Regions from separate parts of the Homo sapiens genome. Here regions 2 and 3 are each linked to region 1. Evidence: promoter capture Hi-C in human tissues and cell types (Jung and others, 2019). All regions are on one chromosome and are shown on one strand. Each heading gives the region's core, a stretch centred on a gene start or on the middle of the fragment in contact. The rest is flanking DNA. Distances are from core to core; before and after follow the strand shown. Region 1 holds the start of COPRS (coordinator of PRMT5 and differentiation stimulator). Region 2 overlaps NF1 (neurofibromin 1). Region 3 overlaps NF1 (neurofibromin 1).

Evidence for each region. The method cuts DNA at HindIII sites, captures the fragments that hold promoters and counts their contacts. A contact is called where the count stands out against the background at its distance.
Region 2: a contact is called between a fragment that was not itself captured here and the fragment with the promoter of COPRS in region 1, in 1 of the 25 tissues and cell types used here (dorsolateral prefrontal cortex).
Region 3: a fragment that was not itself captured here is called in contact with the fragment with the promoter of COPRS in region 1 in 1 of the 25 tissues and cell types used here (lymphoblastoid cells).

The regions. Positions count from the first base shown.
Region 1 is chr17:31,857,919-31,860,618 of GRCh38, reverse strand. COPRS (coordinator of PRMT5 and differentiation stimulator) reads left to right here and starts at 1,375. Exons shown (of 4, transcript NM_018405.4): 1 at 1,375-1,518. The coding sequence starts at 1,420. RefSeq lists a silencer at 1,225-1,654 and an enhancer at 1,714-2,388. The HindIII fragment of the contact is 7,860 bases long and covers 1-2,700 here.
Region 2 is chr17:31,340,554-31,343,053 of GRCh38, reverse strand. It overlaps NF1 (neurofibromin 1), which reads right to left. Exons shown (of 58, transcript NM_001042492.3): 47 at 2,409-2,500; 48 at 1-45. Among named protein-coding and RNA genes, the nearest start is that of EVI2A, 20 kb to the right of the region's middle. The HindIII fragment of the contact is 6,090 bases long and covers 1-2,500 here.
Region 3 is chr17:31,240,614-31,243,313 of GRCh38, reverse strand. All of the region lies in intron 29 of NF1 (neurofibromin 1), which reads right to left. Among named protein-coding and RNA genes, the nearest start is that of OMG, 55 kb to the left of the region's middle. The HindIII fragment of the contact is 8,880 bases long and covers 1-2,700 here.

The sequences.
Region 1 (2,700 bases), core at 126-2,625:
CTCAAGTGATCTGCCTGCCTCGGCCTCCCAAAGTGCTGGAATTACAGGAGTGAGCCACCGCGGCCAGCCCCTGTTTTCTTGTCATTTGTTTTAAAATAAGAAAAAAATTCCTCTTTTTCCTGTCCCTTAAGTCCTGGGATGTTTAACATTCTTAATCTTATTTGGCACTTTAATTTTACGAAAGAGATATGTAGATTAGGGAGCAAAGAGGATAGTGGTAGTCTCCTTAACACAAGGCTATAAGGGTGGTCACCTGGGGTCATCACATCCCTGTATCTGATTCTCAATATTGCAGGTTATGAAAACACATCTAGCTAGTACACCTAGAGTTGCACTGTTAGAAACAGTAGCTCCAAGGCACATGTAGCAATTTAAATTTATTAGAATTATTCAATTTATTCACATTGGCCACATTTCAAGTGCTCAGTAGGTATATGGTTACTATATTGGACAGTACAGATAGTAGAACTTTCATTTCCACTTCCACCATTAAAGAACGTTCTATTGGACATTGCTGACCTAGAGGCAGTTAGCCTTGGGGATACTGACTCCTGTGTAGGAACATCTACATATAGAACAAAAATAATATCGAATATTGTGTGTCAGTTTTATGCTAAATTTTTTCAAATGCCTTTTGTGTTGTACAAACAACACAGTCTTTGAGGGGGATGAAGGAAGAGGGTCTCATGTCCTGATGTTGACGTGATTAGCACACCTTGAGCTGGTTTGTTATTAGAGGTTAGGCACTGTGGGGAAGGCAGGGAAGGCTGTCTTTCCAGTTGGGCTGTTCCCAGCTCAGGCCCTGCCTATCCCCAGAAGCCACCTTTCGAGGCAAAATGGGAAATAATTAGGTTGTCGGTATCAGGCGTTGAGCATGGAAATACAGGAATCCCGAATGTTCAGGATTATTATGAGTAAGCGTCGTGGCCTGTATTCTGTGTCCACTGCATATTGCAGTTTGTGTCTTAATCATCTATCTTGGTTTCTAATGGATTAACTTCAAAGACGATCATTAGCTCAAGGTGGAGGTCACTGGGTTGCTCATGTGTCTTACCCACGCGGGGTTTTGAAGCTGGAGCACACCCCGAGTGGCCGAGTAGGGTACGCTTGGCGTTTCACACGCAGCTAGTCGTGCAGCCTTAGGATATGCACCGAGAGGAGTTTCCAAAATCCGTCTCCGAGATTGTTTCAGATTTCGCGCTGGGAGGGAGGGGCGGGCTCCGCGAGGCCGCGCGCCCCGCCCCCTGCGCCGCCCCGCCCCCGCTTGCTCGTGACACCCCCGCGCCCCGCCCTCTTGGCCGGTACCCACCCCCTCCCCAGGCTGATTGGCGCTTCTGCGGCGGATCCTCGGGCGGGCAGCCGGGCCGGCGCGTCACGTGGCCCACGGCGTCCAGGGCGACCAGCCGCGGGCCGCAGGGCATGGACCTTCAGGCCGCCGGGGCCCAGGCGCAGGGGGCCGCGGAGCCGTCTCGGGGCCCGCCGCTGCCTAGCGCGCGGGGGGCGCCCCCCAGCCCGGAGGTGAGCGCCGCGTGGGGGCCAGGAGCAACAGCCAGCCGCAGCCTGGGGCGGGAAGTCGCGGGGCCGGGCTGGGCGGGGGCCGCGGGGCCGGGGAAGCGCCTCTGGCCGGCCTCGGGCCGCCCCGCGACACGGAGCGCTGTTTGGGCTCGCGCTCGAGCTGAAAACGGCCAGGCCGCGGGGCCGCGGGGCTGCGGGGCGGGGAAAGCCGAGGGCGTGGGTGGGCGCTCTGGGTCAGCAGAGACGGCTGTCCGCCCGCTGGGCGCCGCTGCGGATTTGGTAAATGGGAGGTGACGCTGGTGACCGAGAGCCGGGGCCCGCTGCCAGGAGCCTGGGCGAGGGCCAGGTGAGGGCGGCGAGGAGAGGGACTTGACTTTACAGACCTGTGGACCTCTGTCCGTTGGTGGGGATGCCAGCTAACCCTGAGCCCCAGATGTCACATGCGCGCTCCCCCTTCTCCTTACTGAAACCAGAAAGGCCCTGTTTGACGCAGGGTTTCCAGAAACTTGTTTTCATGTAAGCTAGACAGCTCCTGGTTTTCCCGAGAACGTTACAGACCGTTATTACAGTTCTTACCTGTCCTTGTTTACAGTCTGTACCGGCTAGGTGCTGAGCGGCTTGAAGGTAGGAACCCTCTGTTAGGGCTGTTTGCACAGCCTAGCATAGTGCCTGGCACAGGAGATAGACATACCGACTGGATGAATGATGCCTCAAAGATGGTACTTAGCCAAAGTAAGATATGAAAAATGCAGCGACACTTACAAAGAAAATTACTTTGGAGTGCAGAATAGAATGGGACTAATTTTGTCAGGGCATAGCAGGAAAGGATCAAGGTGAGAGGCTGGTGGTGTCTGCAGAGGCGTGGAGATGAGAAAGTGCAGGGCACATGGCCTGGAGTTGGGTCTCAGAGCATGCAGAGAACTATGCTCAACAGGTTGATGGGAGTGGGAGAAGAGGGGACGTGCGAATGCCATGGCTAATTTTGTGCTCTCTCAGTGGAGGGCTGTTGAAGGTTTTGAGCAGAGTAGTGATTAATTCTGTAAGGCTGGGCCAGATGGCTGGATGGGAAGGTGGTTAGGAGGCCGTGGCAGTGGTTTAGGTGAGAGGTCTGACTTCTCCTTGGGCGGCAGTGACCAGAGGTTGTCACTAACTACAGGGAGTGGAACTGAATTATTAAACCCAGAC
Region 2 (2,500 bases), core at 1-2,500, 520 kb after region 1:
CCACTCCAGAGGATTCCGGATTGCCATAAATACTTCCTCTGGACTCTATTAAAGATAATCATGAGATGGTTGATGAGGTTCACACAGTAGCTTTCTTTAAAGGCTCACTTAATTTTGTGTTCAATAGTATGACAAGATAAGTAATCCTTTCAATTTGAGAGAAATTATTTTCAGTTGACTGCAGAAAACCACAGAACATTTTAGCTACTACAAATTAACTGGTGCAAGACAGTCAAGCATATAAATAAGAAGATGGTGGAAGATGAAATCACTTTTATTTACAATACAAAATAAATGACTGTCAATTTACATCCCGGTGACTTTTAACATGCTTATTAACTCTGATGCCTAGCATCCAAAGGGCACTAGAATCAATATTAGCTCCCGCTACTGGGCTGTTTTGAAGATGAAAATACCGAGGCAGATGCCCCATTTGCAATGCTCCATTTGCAAATATTCTTTTTTTGAGATGGAGTCTTACTCTGTCGCCCAGGCTGGAGTGCAGTGGCACCACCTTGGCTCACTGCAACCTCCTGGGTTCAAGAGATCTTCCCACCTCAGCCTCCCAGGTCGCTGGAGTTACAAACATGTGCCACCCTGGCTAATTTTTGTATTTTTAGTAGAGACAGGGTGTCACCATGTTGGCCAGGCTGGTCTCGAACTCCTAACCTCAAGTGATCCTCCCAACTCGGCCTCCCAGAGTGCTGGAATTACAAACATGCGCCATTGCACCCGGCCAATTTGCAAATATTCTTAACATATAAATAGCCAACAACTAGATATCGCTGACCACCACTGTCCCAAAACAGTTTTAGAAAAACGGCAATGAGAATTAGGACAGAGGGGTTCTAGTCCCAAAACAGATGTACAAGCATGGGCAAGTTACTTAACTTCTTAGTTCCTTTCTAATTTGCAAAATGGAGGTCTGATTAATAAACTCCATAAGACCTCTTACCTCTAAAATTTTGCTTCTATATTTTTCAGACCCATATCTGTTCCAGGTTCACACTACATCTGGTAGACTGAACTAATAATGTTTAGACCAAGTATCTTTTTACACTTAAAACCATAATCCTGTTCTTTGTACCCACAGTTCAGTTAATTTCACTTCAAGCAAATCTCACTGTATATACACATTCTTTTAAAAACATTCCCCTCTTTTCTCCTAGACCCTTCCCATTTTTATCCAAAGACAAAAGGGACGTAATTTCATACTATTTTATTCTCTCCTCTATTCTCTATGAACTAAAATCCAACCCCAATTAGATCTCCATTTTACAAATTAGAAAGGAACTAAGAAGTAATTTGCCCATGTTCATATATATATACACACACACATGCACACGTGCACACACACACACACACCCCATTAGCACCCCTCCTAACATTTATTAACCTTAATTGGAGTTGGATTTTACATATTTTATGTGTGTACACACACACACACACACACACACACTTTATATATATATATACACATACATTACATATATATGTGTGTATGTAATATATGTATACACACTTTTTTTTGGAGACAGGGTCTTGCTCTGTTGCCCAAGCTGGAGTGCAGTGGCGTGATCTCAGCTCACTGCAACCTCTGCCTCCCAGGCTCAAGCAATCCTCCTACCTCACCTCCCGAGTAGCTGGGATTGTAGGTGCATGCCACCATGCCTAGCTAATTTTTGCCTTTTTTGTAGAGATGGGGTTTTGCAAGTTGCCCAGGCTGTTCTCTAACTCCTGAGCTCAACTGATCCACCTGTCTTGGCCTCCCAAAGTGCTGGGACTACAGGTATGAGCCACCACTCCTGGCCACTAATGGTATATTTTAAAGTAAGATTAGACAGAATAAAAAAACTAGTAAAATTAAGTACCCAAAAGTTTCCTTTAGACTCTCCAACTTCCTTATCTACTATGAATTATACGTATTTTTCATTAAGTGGCATTATTAAGTAAAACTAAGATTACTTTTAGATTATTTCTTCACGTGTGAAATGGGGGGCAGAGAATGCTAACCTTTACCTTAAGGTTATGAAAATTAAAAATAAATGTATAGTGTTTAGCATACGGCCTGGCATGGTAGCTATTAATATTATTACCATGTATTGTTTATGCTCATTCTGTAAGGATGATCATGTATTATTTATCCTTATTCTGTAATTCTACTAGTATTAGGCCAGTACTGTTTTTTTTTTGTTTTTTTTTTTTTGCTATTTTTATGTAAAAAATATGCATTCAAGTTTACATAGTTCTTTATGAGCTGGTAAGGAAATATACTCACAATAAGTTACATTATACAAATTCCTACTTAAGTTATGGACTTCTTGTGATTTTAAAAGAATAGCAACAAGAAAAGATGGAAGAGTACTAAATTTGAGTAATCTAGGAACCTCAAGGCAAAGTTTGCTTACCTTGTCATTGAATATACGGAGACTATCTAAAGTATGCAGGTTTTGTTCAAGAAGTGCGGTACCTGCTGAATACAAGTTGACCTCATCAAGCT
Region 3 (2,700 bases), core at 181-2,680, 620 kb after region 1:
GGCAGCAGTACTGCAGGCCTTGGGCAAGACCCAGTGCACTCCCAGTGCTGGTGTCCACAGGGCTGCTTGTGTCGCCCCTCCCCCAGCTCCAGGCAGCTCAACACACACACACACACACACACACACACAGACAGAGAGAGAGACTGACTCTGTTTGTTTAGAGGAAAGTAAGGGAAGAGAAGAAGAGAACAAGAGTCTGTTTGATAACCCAGGGAATTCTCCAGGATCTTATGCAAGACCACCAAGGTGGTACCGCTATGAGTGTACAAGAGCCACAGCGTTATTGGGCTTGGAGTGTCCCCTAAAGCAGATATAGCTGCAGTGACCAAAGACTTAAGATAACAACACCCAAGTGCCTTCAAATACTTGGAAAGCCTTCCCCAGAAGGGTGGGTACAAACAAGCCCAGACTACAAAGACTACAAAAATACCTAACTCTTCAATGCCCAGGCACTAATGAACATCCATAAGCATCAAGACCATCCAGAAAAACATGACCCACCGAAGGAATTAAAGAAGGCACCAGTGATCAATCCTGGAGAGACAGCGATATGTGACCTCTCAGACCGAGGAGTCAAAATAGCTGTTTTGAGGAAGCTCAAGGAAATCCATGATAATGTGGAGAAGGAATTCGGAATCCTATCAGATAAATTTAACGAAGAGATTGAAACAATTACAAAGAACCAGAGAGAAATTCTGGAGACGAAAAATGCAGCTGACATACTGAAATATGCATCAAGAGTCTCTTAAAAGCAAAATTGATGAAGCAGAAGAATTAGCAAGCTTGAAGGCAGCCTATATGAAAATACACAGAGGAGACAAGAATAAAGAATGAAGCATGCTTACAAGATCTAGAAAACAGCCTCAAAAGAGCAAATTTAAGAGTTACTGGCCTTAAAGAGGAGGTAGAGGCGGAGGGTGCAGTGAGCAGAGGTTGCACCATTGCACTGCAGCCTGGGCGACAAGAGTGAACCTCCATCTCAAAAAAAAAAAAAAAAAAAAAAAAAAAGAGAACTTATGAAACCTAGGGAAAGATATTTATCAATATTCAAGTCCAGGAAGGTTACAGAACACCAAACAGATTTAAACCAAAGAAGATTAACTCAAGGTATTTAATAATCAGACTCCCAAAGGTCAAGGATAAAGAAAGGATCCTAAAAGCAGCAAGAGGAAAGAAACAAATAACATACAATGGAGCTCCAATATGTCTGGCCCCAGACTTCTCAGTGGAAACCTTAGAGGCCAGGAGAGAGTGGCATGACATATTTCAAGTGATAAAGAAAAAAAAAAAACTTTTACCTTAGAACAGTATCCAGTGAAAATATCCTTCATATATGGAGAAATAAAGACTTTCCTAGACAAACAAAAGCTGAGGGATTTTATCAATGCCAGACCTGTCCTAGAAGAAATGCTAAAGGGAGTTCTTCAATCAAAAGGAAAAGGACATTAACAAGCAATAAGAAATCTGAAGGTACAAAATTCACTGGTAACAGTAAATACACAAAATATTATAACACTGTAATTGTGGTATGAACTACTATCTTGAGAAGACTAAAAGATGAACCTTTTACAAATAACTACAGCTTTTCAAGATACAGACAGTATAATAAGGTATACATAAAAACAACAAAAAGTTAAAAAGTAGGGGGATAAAGTTAAAGTGTAGAGTTTTTATTAGTTTTCTTTTTGCTTCTTTGTTTGCTGCTTTATGCCATCAGTGTTAACTTGTCATCAGCTTAAAAGAATGGCTCATAAAATATTATTGGCAAGCCTCATGGTAACCTCAAATCAAAAACATACAACAGATGCACAAAAAATAAAAAGCAAGAAATTAACACATATCATCTGTGAAAATCACTTTTACTAAAGGGAAGGCAGGAAGGAAGAAAAGGAGGAAGAGAAGACCACAAAACCACCAGAAAACAAATAACAAAATAGCAGGAGTAAGTCCTCGTCAATAATAACACTGAATGTAAATGGACTAAATTCTCCAATCAAAAGACGTAAGAGTGATTGAATGGATTAAAAACAAACAAAAATAACCCATGACCCAACAATCTGTTGCCTACAAGAAACAGACATCATCTATAAGGAAAAACACAGACTGAAAATAAAGCAAAGAAAAAAGATATTCCATGGCTGGGCATGGTAGCTCATGCCTGTAATCTCAGCACTTTGGGAGACCGAGGCGGGTGGATTGCTTGAGGTCAGGAGTTTGGGACCAGCCTGACCAACGTGGTGAAACCCTGTCTCTACTAAAAATACAAAAATCAGCTGGGCATCGTGGCAGGCACCTGTAATCCCAGCTACTCAGGAGGCTGTGGCAGGAGAATCACTTGAACCCAGGAGGCAGAGGTTGCAGTGAGCCAAGATCACGCCACTACACTCCAACCTGTGTGACAGAGCAAGACTGTGTCTCAAAACAAACAAACACACAAACAAAATACACATGGCAAACAGGTACATGAAAAGGTGCTCAACATCACTGATTATCAGAGAAATGCAAATCAAAACTACAATGAGATATCACATCACCCTAAAGTTGCTTTTATCCAAAAGACGGGCAATAACAAATGGTGACAAGGAGAAAAGTGAGAAAAGGGAACCCTCATACACTATTGGCAGGAATGTAAATTAGTATAATACTATGGAGGACCATTTGGAGGTTCCTCAAAAAACTAAAAATAAAACTACTATATGA